Linked DNA regions of Homo sapiens: all the other regions are linked to region 2. The links are contacts of gene promoters, found by promoter capture Hi-C in blood cells and fetal thymus (Javierre and others, 2016). All regions are on one chromosome and are shown on one strand. The core of a region is centred on a gene start or on the middle of the fragment in contact, and the rest is flanking DNA. Distances in the headings are between cores, read along the strand shown. Region 1 overlaps ANXA1 (annexin A1). Region 2 holds the start of ZFAND5 (zinc finger AN1-type containing 5). Region 3 overlaps LOC105376081 (a long non-coding RNA gene). Region 4 has its middle 26 kb from the start of ANXA1. Region 5 has its middle 12 kb from the start of ANXA1. Region 6 has its middle 31 kb from the start of ANXA1. Region 7 overlaps CEMIP2 (cell migration inducing hyaluronidase 2).

What was found. The method cuts DNA at HindIII sites, captures the fragments that hold promoters and counts their contacts. A CHiCAGO score of 5 or more calls a contact.
Region 1: a fragment that was not itself captured here is called in contact with the fragment with the promoter of ZFAND5 in region 2 in 3 of 17 cell types (total CD8 T cells, naive CD8 T cells and activated CD4 T cells); the score reaches 10.5 in total CD8 T cells.
Region 3: a fragment that was not itself captured here is called in contact with the fragment with the promoter of ZFAND5 in region 2 in 1 of 17 cell types (total CD4 T cells); the score reaches 5.2 in total CD4 T cells.
Region 4: a contact is called between a fragment that was not itself captured here and the fragment with the promoter of ZFAND5 in region 2, in 1 of 17 cell types (activated CD4 T cells). The highest score is 5.6, in activated CD4 T cells.
Region 5: a fragment that was not itself captured here is called in contact with the fragment with the promoter of ZFAND5 in region 2 in 5 of 17 cell types (neutrophils, naive CD4 T cells, naive CD8 T cells and 2 more); the score reaches 8.1 in neutrophils.
Region 6: a fragment that was not itself captured here is called in contact with the fragment with the promoter of ZFAND5 in region 2 in 6 of 17 cell types (total CD4 T cells, naive CD8 T cells, neutrophils and 3 more); the score reaches 7.6 in total CD4 T cells.
Region 7: a fragment that was not itself captured here is called in contact with the fragment with the promoter of ZFAND5 in region 2 in 1 of 17 cell types (total CD8 T cells); the score reaches 5.9 in total CD8 T cells.

What each region holds. Positions count from the first base shown.
Region 1 is chr9:73,156,458-73,159,440 of GRCh38, reverse strand. It overlaps ANXA1 (annexin A1), which reads right to left. Exons shown (of 13, transcript NM_000700.3): 2 at 840-919; 3 at 638-746; 4 at 18-112. The coding sequence starts at 905. Among named protein-coding and RNA genes, the nearest start is that of ANXA1, 6.1 kb to the right of the region's middle. The HindIII fragment of the contact is 213 bases long and covers 1,543-1,755 here.
Region 2 is chr9:72,363,859-72,366,917 of GRCh38, reverse strand. It overlaps ZFAND5 (zinc finger AN1-type containing 5), which reads left to right and starts at 1,710. Exons shown (of 7, transcript NM_001102420.3): 1 at 1,710-2,222. RefSeq lists silencers at 1,472-1,851, 1,862-2,691 and enhancers at 1,299-2,003, 2,004-2,707. The HindIII fragment of the contact is 8,298 bases long and covers 1-3,059 here.
Region 3 is chr9:73,101,108-73,104,101 of GRCh38, reverse strand. The region is part of intron 2 of LOC105376081 (a long non-coding RNA gene); the gene reads left to right. Among named protein-coding and RNA genes, the nearest start is that of ANXA1, 49 kb to the left of the region's middle. The HindIII fragment of the contact is 1,449 bases long and covers 994-2,442 here.
Region 4 is chr9:73,176,158-73,179,087 of GRCh38, reverse strand. No RefSeq gene overlaps it. Among named protein-coding and RNA genes, the nearest start is that of ANXA1, 26 kb to the right of the region's middle. The HindIII fragment of the contact is 1,549 bases long and covers 818-2,366 here.
Region 5 is chr9:73,138,828-73,141,821 of GRCh38, reverse strand. No RefSeq gene overlaps it. Among named protein-coding and RNA genes, the nearest start is that of ANXA1, 12 kb to the left of the region's middle. The HindIII fragment of the contact is 5,813 bases long and covers 1-2,994 here.
Region 6 is chr9:73,118,992-73,121,785 of GRCh38, reverse strand. No RefSeq gene overlaps it. Among named protein-coding and RNA genes, the nearest start is that of ANXA1, 31 kb to the left of the region's middle. The HindIII fragment of the contact is 5,368 bases long and covers 1-2,794 here.
Region 7 is chr9:71,681,159-71,684,034 of GRCh38, reverse strand. CEMIP2 (cell migration inducing hyaluronidase 2) reads left to right here. Exons shown (of 24, transcript NM_013390.3): 24 at 1-669. Among named protein-coding and RNA genes, the nearest start is that of CEMIP2, 86 kb to the left of the region's middle. The HindIII fragment of the contact is 381 bases long and covers 1,139-1,519 here.

The DNA.
Region 1 (2,983 bases), core at 400-2,899, 790 kb before region 2:
TTACCACTCTAACTTACCTTTCCTGTTTCCTGGAGATATGCTGCTTTGATCTGTTGACGCTGTGCATTGTTTCGCTTAGTTAGAATGTCAATGATGGTTGCTTCATCCACACCTGGAAATAAAGGGCCAACAGCCTTTAACACCAATTTTCTTCATCATCAATTGACATAAAATAATTCATTACTGAGATGCTCCAAAAGAACTTCTTAACAAATTAAGAAATATAAATTATATATCAGCCTAAAAAATCGATGCTATACTACATATCAAGGAAGCACTTGGGAGAATGACATTTCATTCGAGTGAGAAAGGAAGAGACAATTAACTTTTCCTGGCCCTCAGTGTTGCAGTGTTTGATACTAGTTGCAACTCTATATGTGAACAGAGCTTTTAATTTCAGCATGGAATTTCTGCTAGAAATGAGCCAGTAATATCTGCTGTAACAATAGAGATTCCACTGATGTGAACACAATTTCCTCAGTGTTAAGTAAATAATTACATCTTCGTTTGGCAAAGAAATGTTTTTATCTTCAAAATGAAACAGATTCTTTCCATTGCACATGTCTGTTTTTTGACAGTCATTCAAATAGCCATTCTGAAATGTCCAGGAGGGAACTGTTTTGAGGAAACACGTTACCTTTAACCATTATGGCCTTATGCAAGGCAGCGACATCCGAGGATGGATTGAAGGTAGGATAGGGGCTCACCGCTGATCCGGGACCACCTTTGGATGACTTCACAGTTTGCTAAGAATGAGAGAGAAATAAATTAATGGCCATTTACTTATATTCGTTTTTATTTCAATATTGTAATCATAATTTTATTATCACTCTACTTACAACATATTCCTGCTCTTCATTTTCAATAAACCAGGCCTGCTTGAGGAATTCTGATACCATTGCCATTTTTGAAAAAGTGTCTGGAAAGAAAACAGTTAGATGCTTTTACAAAACAAATGCACCACACACAACCTCTCCTTCCTCACCTCTTACATACATAAGAGTTAGCATTAGAGAGTAGCCTTGCGCTTACTTTCCAGGATCAATTACACTTAGGAGCATAACAAAATGTAAGACGTAATTTTTTTTAAAGGAAGCTTTTATACTTAAAATGAAACCATACCCTCCTCTCTGAAATTGAACTCTTTCTTGGCATATTCAGTTCTAAATTTTAGAGATCAGACAACTACTACAAGTAAGCACACAGGCTGAAGAGAGGAGTTTGTGGTTCACTACATTGTTCTAAATTTGTAGACCACCCACCATATGCCAAGCACTAAGAGTACAAAAACATTGAAATATCATCTTAAGTACCCTCAGGACTTAAAGCTAGTGTGTGCTCTCCATAGGAAAACATAAGGGCTAAAGAAACTTCTTAGAGTAGGCCCTGGCTGACCCAAGCCTCTCTTGAAATGAGTCAAGATTAACCTGGCAGAAAAGTTAAAGAAGAAGCTTGTCATATTTGGGAAGCAGAAGAAAGTTTGCTGGAGCGAGAAATGTTGGCAGAAGCTGAAACAAGAAGCTTCAATGTGTCCACAAAGCTTTGGGAAAACATTAATGGGTTTCTTTTTGTTTGTTTGTTTTTTTAAAGCAGCATGGTTTCATTTATGTTTCCGAAAGACCATTCATCCTTTATCATGGAGAATGGCTAAGAGATAGACAAGATGGAGGATTAGAATACTATTTAGTAGACCATTAGACCATCTATGTGGAATTAATGAGAGCCTGTACAAAAGTAATGGCTAGATGAAAAGCTTAATGATTGCTTTTTTTTTTTTTTTTTTTTTTGAGATGGAGTCTTTCTCTGTCGCCCAGGCTGGAGTGCAGTGGTGAAATCTCGACTCACTGCAACCTCCGTCTCCTGGGTTCAAGCAATTCTCCTGCCTCAGCCTCCTGAGTAGCTGGGATTACAGGCACCAGCCACCACGCCCGGCTAATTTTTGTATTTTTAGTAGAGACAGGTTTTCACCATGTTGGCTAGGCTGATTTTGAACTCATGACCCCAAGTGATCTGCCCGCCTCGGCCTCCCAAAGTGCTGGAATTACAGGTGTGAGCTACCACTCCCAGCCAATGATTACATTTATAAGGTAAAATAACTTGTGCCAATCTGTACAAGTGAATTCAGATTTAAAATTTTAATTGTAAAAAGATATCCAGGTGATATTTCTCCCTGAATAATTTAGTTTCCTTTTCTATTTCTTGATATAAAAGTACTCAGCATTGAAGTAATTGCTATCTTCACATTTCTTCCTATTTGAGCTGTCTAAATAGTAGTCCTACATATTTTCCCACCCAACACAAAAAACCCAGAAAAGAATTATTTTATACTGGATTTTTTTGTTGTAGCAGGAAGCCTAGAGGTGCAATTGTAACATGCATGTTCTTTTGGCAAACTCTATCTTAAAGGAAATTTCTTGAATTGCTATCATGACTTGGCAATATTTTTATTTAATGAGACATATATTTTTAAGATCTTAAGTATATTGAAAATTAATGTGTTCTCTGTTTTGGCCACACACACACAAAATGCCATCACAGATCCTTTTAGTCTGGGGATGTTTTTCAGAGGCCTTGCTCAAGGTCTACACTGATCTGTCTATCTACACCATTCTGTTTCACCCCTCTAGAGACTACTCTCATGAATGTTTGTGAGAGAGGTTGGGAGGACAATCTTGGCAGTTTTAAATTCTTGATATGAAGATAAATGACTCATGAGGCATAAACTGATTCCATAAACTGATTCCTCAACAGCATGTTCAGACAAACTCTTTCCATTTTCACCTGCTAAAAAGTAACTGGAGTTGCAAGTAATAACACTGAATGCATGAAGAAAATAATATCCAAAGCAGAAATCATCCCCACTTAATTCGCATGGGATTGCTCTTATTACTATTCTGTCATCTGTGAGAAGAACCAATACTTTTTCCATTCATTTAAAGCAGCCTGTTTCCTAAATATAATTGATAGACTTAAAATTGCTTCC
Region 2 (3,059 bases), core at 461-2,960:
AGAGAAAGAAAAAAATTCAAGTTAAAATTCAAGTTATTTTTGTTCTCAATAATAATCACCTCCATTGCCTCCCTGCCCTTCAGTGCCCTGGGCAAGCCTTTTTAGTCATTGTTTCTTTATCTGTAGAAAGGGACATGATAATAGTACCTATCTCAGTGAATTGCTGTGAGGATAAAATGAGACCCTAAATGGAAAATAGTTGGCACTGAAAATGGCCTGTAAATGGTAGCTGCTATTTTTTTTTTTTTTTTACTAATTCATCTGCTAATTTAAGGAAATAAATTGCAGTGGTCGTGGGACCAGTGACCCAAACTACTTAAATCTCTAATACATTAATTGATCACAGTAATAAACCCGAATTTGTTAAAAAACAAAACAAAAGGTTGTTATGCTCCAGGTACTTTGCTAACTGTGGCGGAGAACTGTTTGATTTGGCAGTGGTGGCTCAAGCTATCAGTATAGCATTCCCCCAAATACAGATTATAAATAAGGACCACCTGAAGCGCAATATGGGCCCCCCCCCACCCCCGCTCCCACCCCGGAACAACCAAAACCATATCCAGGGGAGATGCGTAGGAATCTTTAATCACCCCAGGTGATTTTTTTTCTGATTACCAACTTTGAGAAACACTGAAGGGACCTCTTCTCCATTCTATATGTGGCTAATATAAACCCTAAACATCATTTCTATGTATTCGTTAGACCGTTGTTTACTAGAAAATTTCAGAAGTCCTTTCCGACTTAGTAATTTTGTTATTTTGAGTTGAACTGAAATTCACTTGGAGCGGTCAGTTGAAAATGTTTTTTGTTTGTGCTCTGAAAAGGTTCCCAGTGTTCCGGGTAAAGTCATCCTTTCACCCATGGGGGACCTGTGCCTCGTGCCTGAACTGCCCGCCTAGTACCTCCCCCCTTGAACTTCCTCTCGCAAGCCTCCTCCTCCCGCTTCATCTGGGCCTCGGGTCTAGCTTGTTTTGTCCCTTCGCGGCTTTTGAGTAGAACATTTGGTGCTTTCCCAGTTCACGACGCTTTGCTGGAATCGTCAATTTCCAGGGATTTCACAGGCTGGCCAAAACAGTTTGTTCAGAACAGCGCCGCCGGGGCATTGGCAGCCCTGGGCGGCCGCGCGTTTCCTCACTCCGCACAACCACCCGTGACCTTGGGCGAGCGAACGCACGCCGCCAGCTGCGTCAGGGCCACGCTCGGGCTGGACTTCGGAGCTCAAAATGGGTGTGGGGAGTGAGGAGGTTTCATAAACAGAAAAGACCTCGAAGCCATAAGGCAATTCTTTTCCTTTTCTGGGGGTGAATCCTTACGATTCTTGGGGGAGGGAATGTCTGCCCAGGGCTGGAGACAAAGCGTGAGAACTAGGATGGCGAAAAACGGGTTTGAATGAGAAAATCCGAAGGAGGGAGGCTGAGGGCGGACAATTGGGTTAAAAATAGAAACGCATCCTCCACAGGACTCGCTCTTCCCAGCTCCACCCTAGGGGCCGACTGCCAGGCCAGTGGCTGGGCTCCGCGAGAAGGCACAGCAACCCGTCTCGGCCCCGCCTCCTGGACCTACTGACAGGGCACCGGGGGCGTGGCCTTGGGCCCGCGACGTCACCGCGCTCCCCGCCGCCGCCGCCGCCGCCGGGGTTTTCGCTGACGCACGGGTCCCGCCCCCTCCCCCTCTTTTCCCTCACAGCCCGGGCGCCGGGCGGCGAGTGCGTTAGTCGGCCGGGACGCGGAGCTGTGTGCATCTCCTACGCGGGCTCGCTCGCTCCCGGGAGCCGCGCAGCTTCCCCGGCGGTGGCAGGAGCGGCGAAGAGCGCCATCAGCGGGCCCTTACGGCCCCAGGCCTCGCGGCGCGCGGTCCGCTCGCCCTCCTCGTCCGCCCAACCTGCGGCCTGTGGAGGCGTGAGGCGACGACAGGCGAGCGCCTCGAGCAGCGTTAGCCGCTGCGGCCGCCGGTCCTCCCTCCACCTCCTCCTCGGCCCCCCCTCGCTTCCCTCCTCCCACTTCCCGAGCTCCGGCGTGTCCCGGCCACGCTCGACGCTGCTGCAGGAACAAAGGAAGACCCCGCGGCGGCGGCGGCGCCACCTCCGCCTGCTGCTCCGACCCGCTCCCGGCCCGCGGCGGCGGCACCAGGGCGCCCGGCTCAGCCTTCCCGGAGGCCTCGGCCCGGCCTCATCGTGCCGGCTTCGCGCGCGAACCCGGCTTTCGCATTTGGGACCCTGCAGGGTGAGTGATACGGGGCTGCGGGTGGGAGCCGGGCTCCTTGTTGCCGGGCCGGGGGCGGGAGTGAAGGGACCGGGGCGCCGCGGGCCAATGGCGAAGCCGGAGCAGGCCGCGGATGGCGGCGTCCGGGGGAGGGGAGCCCGCCCGCCAGCCCAGGAAGCACAAAGACGGAGGCGTCATCCTGTCGTCGTGGCCCGAGACCTGGCTCCCGGCGTCCCTGGCTCGCTCCACAGCACGGTCGGGAAACAATGCACGGCGTGCCGCCTCTGCGGGGCCGGCCTCTAGGCCGCTCGCCTCCGCGGCGGCGCCCGGCGTGGGCACCACGACCCAGAGAAACAAAGAGGCCGAGGCGGCGGCCGCGCCCCCTGCCCGTTGCAGCCCCCCCTAGCTCTCCCCTAAGAGGAGCCGTTCGGGGTCGGGGGTCGGGGGTCGGGGATCCGCGTGGGGCCTGCAGGCGAAGGGCTGGCCGGGCCTGCTGAGCTGCTGTTCTGCATGACTCAGTGGTTTTCGGAGAGGGCCCTGTTGGGCTTTATTGAGTGAGGCCTTTGCTTAGAGGGGGATGGGGTATCAGTGGGACCCGAACTTGTTCCAAAATCCATTGGAACATGGGGCCGGGGGTTCTCGGCGTCGTCTTTTGGGCTTCTCGACGTCGCTGCGTTTTTATCCTGAGATCCGTTTTCATGGAGGAAATGGAACACCTCCTTTGTTTGGTGCATTTAGGCTGATGAATGTGAAATTTTTTGCTCGCTTTCCACGCACTCCGTGGAGGTGTGTTTTCGGGGAAGGGTCGGATTATCTTTATTGATTGAGTGTCTCCTAAGGGATAGCATCTAAGGAGAT
Region 3 (2,994 bases), core at 469-2,968, 740 kb before region 2:
AGAAACAGAATATATGAAAAATAACCAGGTAGAAATTATATAACTAAAAAACCCAATATCTAATTTTTTTAAATAGGCTTAATAGCAGAATGGAAATCATATAAAGAAGAGTTAGTAAAATTAATATGGATTAATATAAATTAGACAATTTTTAAAAAGAGAAAACATAATTTAAAAAGAAAGAACTGAGCCTCAGAAATCTTGTAAAAGTATATGAAAATTTCTAATATTTATAATCAGACTCTCAGAAGAAAAAGGCAGAGAGAAGTGGTAGGAAAAAATGTGAAGAAATAATGGATAAACTTCTCAAGTTTCGTGAAAGTCAGTGTTTCACAGGTTCAAGAAGGTTGGCACCACCTATCAGAAGAAATATGAAGAAAGTCACACCTAAGCTCATCCTCATCAGATGGTTGAAATCCAGAGATAAAGAGAAAATCATGAAAGTAAGCGGAACAAAGAACAACAATACATCACACAGAAGGGAACACAATTCAAGTTCATGGAAAATCTTTAAAAATATTTATAAATTGGAAAGGTGGGAAAATTAAGTACTGAAAGAAAAAATAATTGACAACCCAGAATTCCATGTCCAGCAAAAAATCCCTCATAAGTGAAGGCAAAATAGTACATGTTTCAGATATCAGAAAACTAAGAGAATGTATTGTCCTTGTACATGCACCAGGAGAGATGCTGAAAGAAAGTTCTGAGGATGAAGAAAAAGTAGGTAGTAGAGAAAAATTCATATATTAAGGAAGAAAGAAAAAATCATTATAAATGATAAATATCTGGGTAAATTTAAAATATTATTTTTTCTCTGAATTTAAAAAAAATACATGTGACTATATACATACAACATTTTCTTGTGGGATCTTAATGTGCAAAGAAGCACAAGAAACTTGGGGTTAATTAAAATAATTCATACATTGTGTGTGGTGGTGGTTTTATGGATATATTGGTCTATTAAAATTAGTTGAATTGTATACTTTAAAAGCTTGCAGTTTTGGGGGGCATGTAAATCATATATAATAAAGTAACTTAACAAAAGATCCTGAGAAGAAGGGGCATGACAAGTTACAAATGCAATAGATGGCCAGTAAATAGTAATAGTAGGTGTGACTCTCATATGCTTTGCTTCCTTATGTTTTTCCTTGTATAGTTCCAGGAACTCTAAATGTAGGGAACTATGTCATAATATATCACTGTGGGAAGATTAATCAGAAAAATAATTAGTCCTTCAAATATGAGTACCTTTTTATTGTTATGAGGTAAAATTTAATTTATCCATCTAAAAATTAGAGTATGGATATTACGTATTTACTAAGCCCAAATATTTTACAGTCATTCATTCTTGATTCTTCTTTTATTTGGAATTTTAAAAGTGTAAGTTTAATTGTCAAAAATATATCTTAAATCCATCCATCTCTACATCCCCTACTCTGACCTGAGTCACCAACATCTGTAGTTGCTGCCTGGTAAACTACAACCACTTCTGAATGGTCTCCCCGCTCCTGTCTTGGCACAACCAATTTATTCATCACTCAGCAGTCACAGAGATCTGCTTTAACTCTGCCTAAACCCCTCCAATGGCTTTCAATGGACTGCAAGTAAAACCCATACTCTTTATTATTTCCTACAAGGCACTAAGTTGCCTGATCCAGGCCCTGTCATACTGCCTGAGCCTCTCTCTTTTACTCACTGAGATCTTGTCACACTAGCTCATAAGTTGCAAGATATTATCAACGTATTTCTTCCATCAGGGCCTTTTAGCTTTCTGTTCTCTCATCTGAAGCATTCTCTCTCACACTCACCTTCTCATTTTCAGCATGGTCAACTTCTATTCATTCTTCAAGATTCACTTCAAAAGTTGTTCCCACTGAGAAAACTCCTCTAACCAACCTTACCTAATCAGATCTCCCCAGTAATGTATACGCACAGTACTCTATTTACATCTTTGCTAATATTTATTACAATCTTTCAATTTTTTAACATATGTGTTCAGTCATTTGCTTCTATCCTTTTTCACTAGAATATAAACTTTATCAGACACACTGAGTCTTTTGTTCATCACTGCATTTTTTATTCTAAACTAAGTGTTCATCGTGTAGTAAATATTCAATAAATATTGAATGAATGAGAGTGGAACGATGTATAAGCAAATTAATAAATACACATTGGATCAATGCTGTTTGTAAACTAAATTCTATAATTTTTTATTCATGAAATATTAACAATGCTTTTTTAATGAAAATTTCTTATAAGTTTCTTCCCGATTCTTCCTCTTATATCAGCTGCCCAAGAACTGAAAGAAATTATGGTGGAGCTGGAAAAAGTCCAGGAAAATTTAAAACTTGCACATAGCCATCCAAATGCAACAGTATCCCCAGGGAAGATGATGTCCTGGGATTTGGATGTAGAAACAGAACAAGAGAATAAAAACAAGCTTACAAATGTAATCTTTTCTCATGGCTTTAGAATAACTAAAATAACTCTTAATAACATTAATCTGGTTACCTTCAAGTAAATATCCTTCGGATATTTGAGTTTCTGATGCACAAGGCAGTCCATTAACAAACTGAAACGACCATGTTGATTGACATCCAGAAGGAATATATTTGAAGACATTTATTTCATAGATACCAAAATGCATATTTGCCATTTTCTTTTATGGGTCTTTTTTTTTTTTGACTCATGAAGATTTAAGAAGCACTTCACAATGTCATGTTGAGATATAGATTCTGACTTTTAGATAAAGCACATTTTCTAGATAAGTAACTCACTAGATTCATATTGTGCCTTAGCTTGAGAATATTCAAAACTATAGATGCTGTATCATTGAAAGAGGAGACTATTCCCTCTGACTTTTGTAGAAAATGGCCTGACATGTATATTGCAATTTAAAGTTTTATTGAATCAATGATTATAATTAAGATAAAACATGATCTTGAGTGGTAATAACCAGACCTAATTTTAGGGTGAACAGCAGAGGAATAATGT
Region 4 (2,930 bases), core at 343-2,842, 810 kb before region 2:
TAGCCACTCTATGGAAGATATTGCAAATGAAGTACAAGGAATGTGATTAAATATATTATTGTCCTTTATACAGGGATAATAGTGTTTCCTCTAAATGGTTCCAACGATCTCTCTGTTCTTCTCCAAATCATCTAAGACCTCATTACTCACCCTTTGAAAGGTAGTCTAATTACTGTTGCTTTGAAACTGAGCCTGTAACTTGCTTGTAACCAAAAGAATGTGACACAAATCATTTGTGATTTGTGAGACTAGGTGGCAGAAGATGGTGTAGCATCTGCCTTGGTAGCTGGAACACTTGTATTGAAGCCCTGGGCTGCTGCCTCAGTGGGCTTACTTCCCTGAGACTGTCATGCAGGGAGAACGCTGAATCTAGTCTCCTTGGACAGGCCCTGAGATTATTATATAAAGAAAGAGCTGCCTGGCCAGCCCTCAGCTGCTCCATCCTCCATTTTCAGCTTCAGCCACCATTTGACTGCAATTGCAAGTGATTCCTGTAGCCAGAACCACCTGTCAGGAAGAGATAGATTTGGATATATTTCCCTGCAGAGGTCTTGGTGACAGCAGAGTGGTGGTCTCCTGATTAGGATGTGTGAGCAATGAGAAAATGGCTGTACGTTTGTTTCCCTCTGCTTCTTGTACTTCGTAACTCCTAAATTTCTTGCCTAGTTCTCAACCTGGGCTTCCAATCCTCCACCCACTCTGAGTCCTTTACTCCAACACTCTTAGATGCTTCTATAAGTTCCTCTTTCATAAGTCCGCTCATCAGTTTCTCTTGCTTGCAACCAAGGACTCAACTGCTATTCCTCACATTTAAGCTTTTAGAGGCCTATTGATTCGTATCAGCATACTCACATAATCACCTAGTTCTGTTTCTGAGTAAAAGGATTAGTTTAAGGTGCCACTTAGTCATCACTTTTAGAACTGTATAAAATTTTTGGCTAAGTACCTAAATTATTTTCTCAAATTATCAGATGTCCTATAAGAAAGCATTTTGAATGTTTTCATAAAAGTATTCATGTTTCTATAAATTAAAAGACAATACAGGTTGCAATTAGGTGTCACTAGATTAAAAAAAACAAAAGACAAATTTCATTCAACAAATAGAGGGTGAAACAGCTTTGCTTAGTTAACATTCATTCCCAGAGCTCTTTGTGTGTCACAATGAATACATAAATAACAATACAACTTTCAATTTACAGAAAGTCAAGAAAGCCTAATCTTTGGTTTGTGAATGTGGAAGAATGAAGGAACGTAGACCAAACAGCAGATATAGGTAACACATACATTATTGAAGGAGTTTTAGAAATAGTAGTGTTAGATTAGTGATTCTTTAAACCCAGTGTTCAAGTGAATGTAAAAGGGACATTCCAGGGGACCAGAAGAAAGCTGTGTCCATGATGCTCCCATGGTGCTTTCCCGATCTTTCAGGTCCTATTTTGCTCTCAATCTGTCTCACATCAGTCTGGATCTTGTCTATGCTCAGACCTTCAATAGAGTTTAGCAATGATGTTCATTCAGCTCATCTTATGATTAGCAAAAAAGCAAAATGCTGAAAACAAATGCTCCCTGTCAATTAGGGCTATTTTGAAATGGTAGAACCACTCCATCCCTAAGAGATTTTACAGAAGCATGCTAGTCCTTGAGGTAAAGCAACTTTCCTGCTGCAGTTGTGGCCCTGGTGTCTTCTCTAGAATGGATCTTTTCCCCAACATGTTGGACTAACCAAGAAAAGAGAGCTAGAGAGACCGTATGACACAGCAGTGCTCCAGTCTTGTATCCTTGGTATTCGAGTATAATTCTTGATGTCCACCAAATGCCTTAGCATAAAGAATAAGCACTTTGAGCTAACCTGTAATAGCACAAGCTATCATTTTTTGTCATAATTTTACTAAGTGCTAGCTATTGTACCAGACAATAGCAATACAACAATAAAAGGCAAAAAAAAAGAAGAAAGAAAAGAAATAGTCTATGCAAACAACCTGTTCATATTCTAGAAGAAGTGACAAATATTAACTAAATAATCGCTTAAATATAAAATTACAACTCTGGCATTTAATATAGTACAGAGATATGTAGTGTTAAAAGGGTCTATGAGATATTTGAGCTGATATTTGAAGAATTAGCAAAGTTAACAAGAATGAAATGAGAAAAATATAGTGTTTAGGCTGAGGAAGTCCAAAGCCCTTGAGACAGGAGGAAGCATAGACAGAGTAAGGCTTGTAGAAGGCCAGTGCAGGGGAATACAGAGAGTGCTGAAAAGTATGCCGCCCAAAGAAGATGGAGAGCTGGGGGGGAAGCCACGCCCTACTGGCACTAAGCTGAGTGACTAAGGAGACTGGCATTTTGTGGAATCACAAACAAAAGCTTCTCAGTATTGTAAGGTGCCACCCAAGGGGTTGCATGGGGTAACCACATTAACATTTGCCATCTGGGCAGAGCAAAATACGTGTGACAAAATATAGACATTAGTCACTCAGCTTAGTGCCAGTATTGAACTGGCAAGGCTCACACTTGCCCCTGGTAAGGCTCTGTCATCTTTAATCCATTCAAAGTGGATTAAAGAAGTTTCAACACGTGGTCTCTGGGAAAGATGGCTGCCCTGAGTAAAAGAAAAGATAGGAAAGGGAAAGGAGAGAAAGAGAGAGAAAAGCATAGCCTGTGATGAGGTAGGGAAGGCAAGTAGCTCAGGAAGGCCAGAGAAAGACCCACCCATTGTAGCAACACTGAATCAAAAGTTCAGGCGGTCGCTTGACAGTTGTGAAGGGATCTTTTCCAGGGGTCCTATCAGCTCTCAAGTTTCCCCCTTTGGGGAGGAAAAAGCTCCCCATGTCCCATGATCCTGTACACGCCTAATCCTTTCACCCATAGCCATCAGCAAACAGTGCAAGGCAGATTAATCCACAGAGAATAGTGGTTAACATCCCATAGTG
Region 5 (2,994 bases), core at 296-2,795, 780 kb before region 2:
GATAAGCCTTTCCAAAGGAGGCAATCAGAATACACAACTATCTCAGAGAGCAGATGACTTGAATAGAATGGGAGGAAGGTTTGTCCTGAGCAGTTCCCAGCTTGACTTTTCCCTTAGCTTAGTAATTTGGGGGCCCCAAGATTTTCCTTTCACAGTAGTATTATTGATTTGTATTTTTAAATATAAATTCCCCAGATTAGTCAGGGTTACTAGCATAGAAGCTGAATTGCAACAAATTTAGTCAGAAAGGGGGAAATGTACTGGAAAATTACTGGAGTATATTTTGTAACTCCACATTTAGACTTGGCTCTCAGACTCTTTTGGAACCAGGAATTTGAATCTTGCTAGAAGTTTCTTTTTCTTTCTCTTATCTCTGCATTTATCAGACTAGTTTTTCTCATCATGGTAGCAACATGACAGCCAACATTCTTATCCTTACATCTCGCAGCTTCTTTATGAGGCAAGCATTGTTTCTTCCCCTGTTTGAGAAAATTAAAGTAAAAATCCTGTGCATGTGTATTGATTGATCTAGCTTGAGTCAGTGGTCTATACCTAAAACAATCCACTGAGGACATAGAGTTGATGATTGTGATGGGAAGACCTCAATAGAACCACGTGATTTGTTTTACCTAGAAGAAGATAAGGCTGTTCTTAACATCAGGGAGGAATACTTCTTAGACAAAATAATGGAAGTCGACAACATTCTTTCAGAAATGACATCCACTCACTGTCTTACTTGGAATCTCCAGTTTTATTATCTGAAAAGATTTCAAATCCGTAAAGTTTTATCTAAAATAAATTGTCTATATTTTCTTCCTGGTATTCCTAAAAAACATTATTCTGTAATCTAAGCAGTGAACTATGGTTAAAATGGAATTTCGAAAGAACATAAAAAGTAAGTACATTACTTCCATTGGGTAGCAACAGACACAGAATAAAGTCTTTTGTTGGTACTGACTTAATCTAAAAAAAAAATCTTACTATCAGCATAAATACCACCTCACGACTATTCCAGCACTAAAAGTAATTGGCTTAATTCTTTATGCATGTGATGTTTTTGCAAAAGTGGTGAATCATGTAACTACTTGTCATAATCAACTATAACATGACAAAATTTGAAAATATAAATAAGGCCTATCTTTTTATAATGCTCATAAATCCTCATTTTGTTTCATTTATACCTATTCTATATGAAATATCATGAAGTTAGGCAACCATAGTTTATTTTATGACAATGTACAACCATGAATGTGATCTTTTTGTGAGTCTTTCATTTTTGTTAACGCTGAACATAGCCCTTTTCATTTGTATAGCACTTCACTATTTATGAAGTCCCATTATATAAATTTCTCATTTTGTCATGGTTGACTGCCAGGTACTTTTTAAAGCCCAGCTCAATCATAACATAATGTAAAATACCATTTGGGCTAGATTGATGGACTTTGAATAAGGTGTGCTTCTTTGAATAACTATGGCTACTGAGAATCAGAAACAAAATAAAGATTAGATCTGAATTTTTATGACCTTCCATAAAATGTACATTCAACTAGATAGCCCCCCAAAGGTAGCAAATTTGAGAGGAGAACTTATTAAAATTATGTTCAGTTGGAAATTTCGTGACTGGTTTTGAAGATTTCTCCAGTCTCTACCAGTTTACTGCTTAGTTTGGAGGTCCATTTGTAGTCAGAGAAGATGAGGAGTGTCCAATTAAAGGTTGCAATCTACCTCAAAGTTCTAGAAGGTCCATAGAGACATAAAGTATATAGAGACAGAGAGTACTTGGGAATGTCCATTTTTTTACGCTTAGGAAAAGGACCATTTCTCATCTGGAAACTGAGATTTATGTTCAGCGGAGTTCTTATAATCTACACTTAAGTCAATAGTGTATTTACCGAAGGTATTAATTCAAATCACTTTTTGGTTATAACTCTAACCAATATATATGTCATTGATGGCTCCAAAAGAAGGTTTGATTCAGGTTTTAGACAATAGAACGAAATTGCCCTAAGCCTTGGCAGATCGGTATGCAATATTACATTTATATTTTCTTCAAGAGAAAAACAAAATCTAAATCAAAAACATTCATTTTAAGAAATCAGGAAGACATTGTTCCATTAAAATATAATGTATTCTTTCTATGAAGACTGGCACCTTGCTTTTCTTTCTTTTCACATATTACTGAGAACATTAATCAATATCCTCCAATTTAAATCAATATTAAAATCTTCTTTCTCTCCTAATAGTTGATCTTGTCTTATTATTTTTTTGCTGCCTGAAATAATGATTCTCTTTCACATATATCCATTGCACTGGTATAAAGGGAATTATGATTTCAGAATTATGGTTCTACCTAAAACTGGATGTATGTATGTGTGTGCATGTATTCTATCAATGCTGAAAATGTACATAAAAATATGTATAGCAAAACAATAAAATCTTTCCTACTTCTAATTTGTCAGTTTAAGCAAACACCATGTTCTTTAGGAGCCTGTTTTCCTAGCTCTGTACCTATTTTCAAATGAAATCATGTTTTCCAGGTACAGGGAGTAACTATTTCCATCATTTCTAAGAACACAGAACACAAAATTCATAAAGTACAAATAAAAGTTTCTTCACGTGTCTTAGTATCTAAACAGAACTAAAAATGGGAAGACAGCATATTTAATTTCTTTCTTCCTTTTCAATTTGCAGTTAAGGCTAAAATGGTGATGACTTGTCTTTTCCCTTCCCATTCTGTACCCTCAGCTTCACATATATCCTCAGCCTAATGAAACCAGTTTCTCTACAATTTTCAAAATGCTCTTGACTCTCATTTATGCACAATTGCTCATCCTGTTCCCAGTAAATATGGTCCTCTCATTTTTCTATAAATTTTTGCATTTATGAAAGCCCAGTTGCAACTCACATGATATATTTCTTAACTTTCTCATTCAGTTTTTTGAGTAACCTTATTCTTATTTATATTAATATTTAATGCTTCCATATTCTTAGAAA
Region 6 (2,794 bases), core at 98-2,597, 760 kb before region 2:
CCAGGAAAGAGAAGATGGAGCTAGAACAATTCATATTCCCTTACTTATGCAAATTCAGAAGCCACTGTTGAGTCAAACCAGGCATGAACAGTCACCCACTACCTTGAAAAAAATTCCGGAGAAGTTAAGGAAACAATTATGTTAAGTAAGGAAGAGAGAGTCACTAAAGCAAACTCAAAAGGGAAACAACCCAAGTCAAAGCAGGAGAAATATTGGTGGTTGCAAAGTAGCAAAAGAAACAAATATACAGGGTCCATATGACCTTGTGTTAGACACTGTATTGCTCCATCCCATTTGTATTCTTTTTTATTTTACACATAAAGGCCATCAGCATACCTTTATAAATTCTTAGAATTATGACATATAATTTAAGTTGCCCAAATACCTCAGATCAGATTGATATGAGACAATTGGGAAATTGATTAAGTAGTATATTATTTTTATTGCTAAGTCATGACAGCAACCACCACTTGACTGGTAGAAAGTAATGCCCATGAAAGTGCATGGTCACTTAAAAAGCATCTCATATGTACTCGAAGTCAGTTTTCGGCTACAATAAGGATATGGGGCCTGTAGCCAGTACTGTGCTAGAGTGGCTTCCTAGCAGCTCAGCAGATCCAGTTGTGCACATTTCTTCCCAAATCCCCAAATCCAAGCTCAGTGATTGTTGGTAACTTGAAATTGGCTGTGGTAGAAAACATGACAAGCTAGGGCTTTTCCCTAACCTTGGTGAGGGGTTGTTAAATATTACCAACATGCCACTATGTCTGTCCTGGTGTTTCTTTCCACCAGGTCTCATTTGTGGTTTAATTCTACTATTCATGAAGACCTTTGAGAAAGCCTTACCATTGCCACTCATCATCATGAGTTCAATAGTTGTGCCAATAGTATTGTTTCCAGATGCTTTCGTAGCTTCCAGTCTTGGAGTTGCCAAAATATTCCTGGATTCCATGCAGAGATAGGGAAAACAGTTTACCTCAACTCCTCATTTTTACACGTGGGCTCTGAAATCTCTTTATATTCATCCCCTGGTTTCTCACTGTATCTTACTGACTTCTCCATGTTGTCTCAAAATGAATCCAATGAACCATGTAAGAGATAGACATTATTCCAACTTTGATTTGTTTTACTACTTAAGGTCCTCCTGCCAACCTCCAAAATATGTTTCTTCTTCCCCAAGAAAGCATTCACATATATCAGTAAATGAAAACAATGTCGAATGTATGAGCCTATGGGTAAACAAGAAGAGAAGAAATGCTGTCTGATAAGAGGGGCGCATGGAGTCCAGCTTAGCCAAAAATCAACCATGCCATTTAACTGTTTTAATTGTATAATTTGCTAGATGTTTCTGTTTTTCCTCCTTTCTCAAATTGACTCTACACAATTTTTTACCCTGCTGTGTATTCTGGAGAATTGATATTTAGGGGCTACCTTGATGGCTTCCTTTCTCTCTAACCTCCTGTTGAGTTTGGCCAAAGGAAGGCACAAGCAGGAGATTTGGAGATTTTAGTTGAATGGCCTTCTCCATATAGCTGCTCTCTCTGGGCTATGATAACTGTTCTTTCCCTGGTCTTTCCGGCCTGTGGTTAGTAATAGCTCCTTGCTAGCACTAGTCCTTGGACACAGTACTGTTCTTCATTGTTTTTGGAAAAACCCCATCCCATACCTTTAAGAAATTCTCTCTATAGAAATCTCATCAATTATCCTGTTTCAGTATGTCATTCCTTATTCTGTTGGAATCCTGGATGATACTTCAATTAACCTAAGTCATAGCCCATGAAGCTCAATATTCTTTTCACTAAAGGTATTTCTATTTAGTATATTTATGAATCATACTTATGGTGCTTCAACTATGAAAAAAATTTTAAAATCATTCTGCCAAAGAAGGCTGTTTATTTGACCCTAAATATTGTACATCTACCCTACCTGCAATTTCATTAGATCTTTTCAGAGTGTTTCAATTTTTTTTTTTTTTTCTTGAGATGGAACCTCGCTCTGTCGCCGAGGCTGGAGTGCAGTGGCGCGATCTTGGCTCACCGCCAGCTCCATCTCCTGGGTTCACGCCATTCTCCTGCCTCAGCCTCCCGAGTAGCTGGGACTACAGGCGACCGCCACCACGCCTGGCTAATTTTGTTGTATTTTTAGTAGAGACGGGGTTTCACCGTGTTAGCCAGGATGGTCTTTCTAAATGAATAACTCCTCTTGAAGTAAGTATTTGAAGAGAAAATCAAGGATAACGGAGGAACATGGAGCACATTGAATCTTGTAATACATATAACACATTGGTTTGACATATATTGATATGAGAAAGAAACCCAGCAGTTTTATCAGAGTATTAAATATGTAGTAATGCATTGGAAAAAATAGGCTCCATCTCCTCAACATTGTCTCTGGGTTCTTTTACATTTAAGTGAAAACTTGATTGTGCAATCTGAGTTTAATGTAGGTGCTAGAAAATCCACTCATATTATCAGGATCTTGAAGCTCACATTACTGGGTTGAAAAGTTTCCAGAAAAAGATTTTCCTACCCATTAATGAAAACCAACAATTGGAATAATTCAAATCAAGAATTAACCAGGATACATTTAAGCTGTCTAATCCTCGAATCCCCTAGGCAATCCTGAGTCATTCAGCTACCTAAGGTGCTGCTCCAATGATCAAGCAGTTTCCAGAGTGAGAAAGGGCGCCCTTGCCCTGACCTGCAACTGGAAGACTGGGAGAAAGGTTACGTTATATGAATGATTCATATGAAAATGTGGGAAGGAACTGCTGTATCATTTTATCATATTCCAG
Region 7 (2,876 bases), core at 80-2,579, 680 kb after region 2:
TTCCACAGGGTGCATGCGTCTCCTGCTGGTGAATCACATGCGGCAAGAGGCAACTGGCTCCACAGCCTGGGATGCTGCCGTACCAAGAGGAAAGAAGCAGCAAAATGCCTTTACGTTGTTCTAAACCCCCGACGCATAAAGTGTAGAGGAGGGATGGCCAAGGGTGGGTGGTAGAAAGTGTGTTCAGGCTGACACTGGCAATGAGTACAGATAATTTCACTTTCCTCTTCTAGGGGCAAAGGCTGATGGCCTCTACCTTTGTATCCAGGAGAAACTGCAGAGCAGCCCTGTGACTTTACAAAATATGCTACCTCAAAGTGCTACCGATAAACCTTTCTAATTGTAAGTGCCCTTACTAAGGGCACATGTCTTAATCAAAGTTAGTTTTTTGTTTTCTGGTTTGTTTTTTTTTTTTGTATATTGATGAATGAGATCTTACCTATTAAATATATTATTGGATTATGGTTCCTGAAGGTCATTAGAGTGTGTGTGTGTGTGTGTGTGTGTGTGTGTGTTTTATGACTTAAATATCTTTACGTGTGTTTTTTAGAGCTTGGTTCTTTAAAGATTTGGAGAAGATATGTAAATTACCAAGGCACTTGGTTTTTCTGTTTTATATACTAATAATCAGGGCCTAAGTTAAATAAAAATATGTGTGCATGTATTTTATATATGTGTGTATGTGAATTTATTTATTATTTATTTTATTATTATTGTTATTATTTTTGAGATGGAGTCTCGCTCTGTCACCCAGGCTGGAGTGAGGTGATGCAGTCTCAGCTCGCTGCAACCTCCACCTCCCAGGTTCAAGTGATTCTCCTGCCTCAGCCTCCCAAGTAGCTGGGATTACAGGCACCCGCCACCATGCACTGCTAATTTTTGTATTTTTAGTAGAAGTGGGGTTTCACCGTGTTGGCCAGGCTGGTCTTGAACTCCTGACCTCAAGTGATACTCCTGCTTTGGCCTCCCAAAGTGCTAGCATTACAGGCATGAGCCACCGCGCCTGGCCTGTATGTGAATTTATATCTCTATCTATAAATTTAAAATTCCAGATTCCAGCTGTAAAGAAGTTACTGACGGAAGTGAGGAAGACACTTGGTGGACAGAATCCACCAAGTAAATATTGTAAGAGTAAGCTTCAGAAGGGCAGGGACTGTATTCTCCAAGGCAGAGGTTCTCCATCTTGGCTGCACACTGGAATTACCTGAGGAGCTTTAAAAAAAAATATAGAGGCCTGGACTTTACTCCCTTCCCCCCAGATTCAGATTTAATTGGTGTTGGGTGCAGCCTGAGCACTGGAATTTTTTTTAAAGCTCCCTGGATGATTCTAATATGCAGCCAGGTTTCGGAACCACGGCACTAATATAATAGGCCCACTGTTTAACTCCAGTCTGTAATTTTTTTGTGACTAAAACAAAATTGCATTTACCTATTATTTTTATTTGCATTTCCTATATTACTCACAAAACTCCCAGCCCTAAACAAAGCATTTCTCTATTGTCTCTTTTTAATAGAAGCTTTTAATACAGTTTTTAGTCCTCAGTCCTCTCAAATCATTAAATTGGTTCTATACACTGATATATACATTTCAGGGAATTGGGAGCTAGCAATCTGTTCTATTTCTACCAAGAAAATATATTCAAAGGTGATTTATAAGTTCATAAGCATTTTCCATCAGGTGAGGCAGTTGGTTGAGCTCCAAAAATGTGGTCGTCCACAAATCAGCCAGCTGACGAGCAACACAGAGGGCTCTCATGTATCCACAGACTAGGGTTTAAGTCTTTGCTGTGATTCCTGCCTCTCCACCTGAGTCAGCATGCCATATATTATCTTCAGAGGCTGGAAGAGAGTGCTGGCAAGAAGATGAAAGGCAGACGCACCATCTCATGGACTATGACTGCAAAGCAGCCTCTAAGCTGATGTTTAGACTCGGGGATGGGAAGAGAGGATTTATGACTCCTCTGTTCTCTAACTTCATCAAGAGACAACACATCCTCATGCCATTAAAGTGGGTTACTTTGTCTTGAGGAGGGGAAGGTAATGAAGTGACAGATCGAGGCTTGAGTGCTTTAGATAACTACAGTAGGTTTTCATTCCTTAAGAGATGAGGTCATGTTTGGATGTGTCTGGTTGAGAAGCATTTCAGTAAGAAGGAATGAGCTTAGTTAGTTCAAGTGTTTTTTTCTGTTGTTCCTAGTAGATAAACACAATACATAGATTCAATGATGACAATGTTTGTTAATTTCATCATGCAGAGTTGGAGCTTACTTCTGGAATTCTTATTTGGTTTCCAGATACTTATTAAACAATGTTTAATAACCTGAGAAATTCCCCTGGAGGTAAAGACCTTTAATAGGGCAGCAGATTTGTATCATTACTGTTAGTTATGATTACATTATTACTGTTATAACCCAGTGTGCTGGAAATGTGAGCAGACACTATTTAAGCTAGTTTTCAACAAAAGGTCATGGAGGGAAAAAAAATAAAGGAACTCCATTCCTGGTTCCTTGCTCACAAATGGCAAAATGCTGTTCACAGACTTGCTAGACCATTTGAGTCATTTGGAAGAGAAAAGGTTTTTTTGTTTTTCCCTTATTTATCTTCAATTTGAGAAAAAAACTAATAAAAGGATGCTTCAGTAGGCCCTGGTGTTGTGGATAAGGGCACGCACACTTTTTATTTTTATGTGGTAAATTTAGAGAATGACTGACTGAACTGTGATTTCTAAATGAGGAACTGTGCCCCACAGGACATCCAAAATTATCAGCCATAGCAAGCTGTGAACATGTTATATCTGAAAATACAGCAAAGGGTGGACCAGAAAACATCTTTATAGATGTGTTTTTGTAATTTTCCTAAGAGGGACAAAATAATTA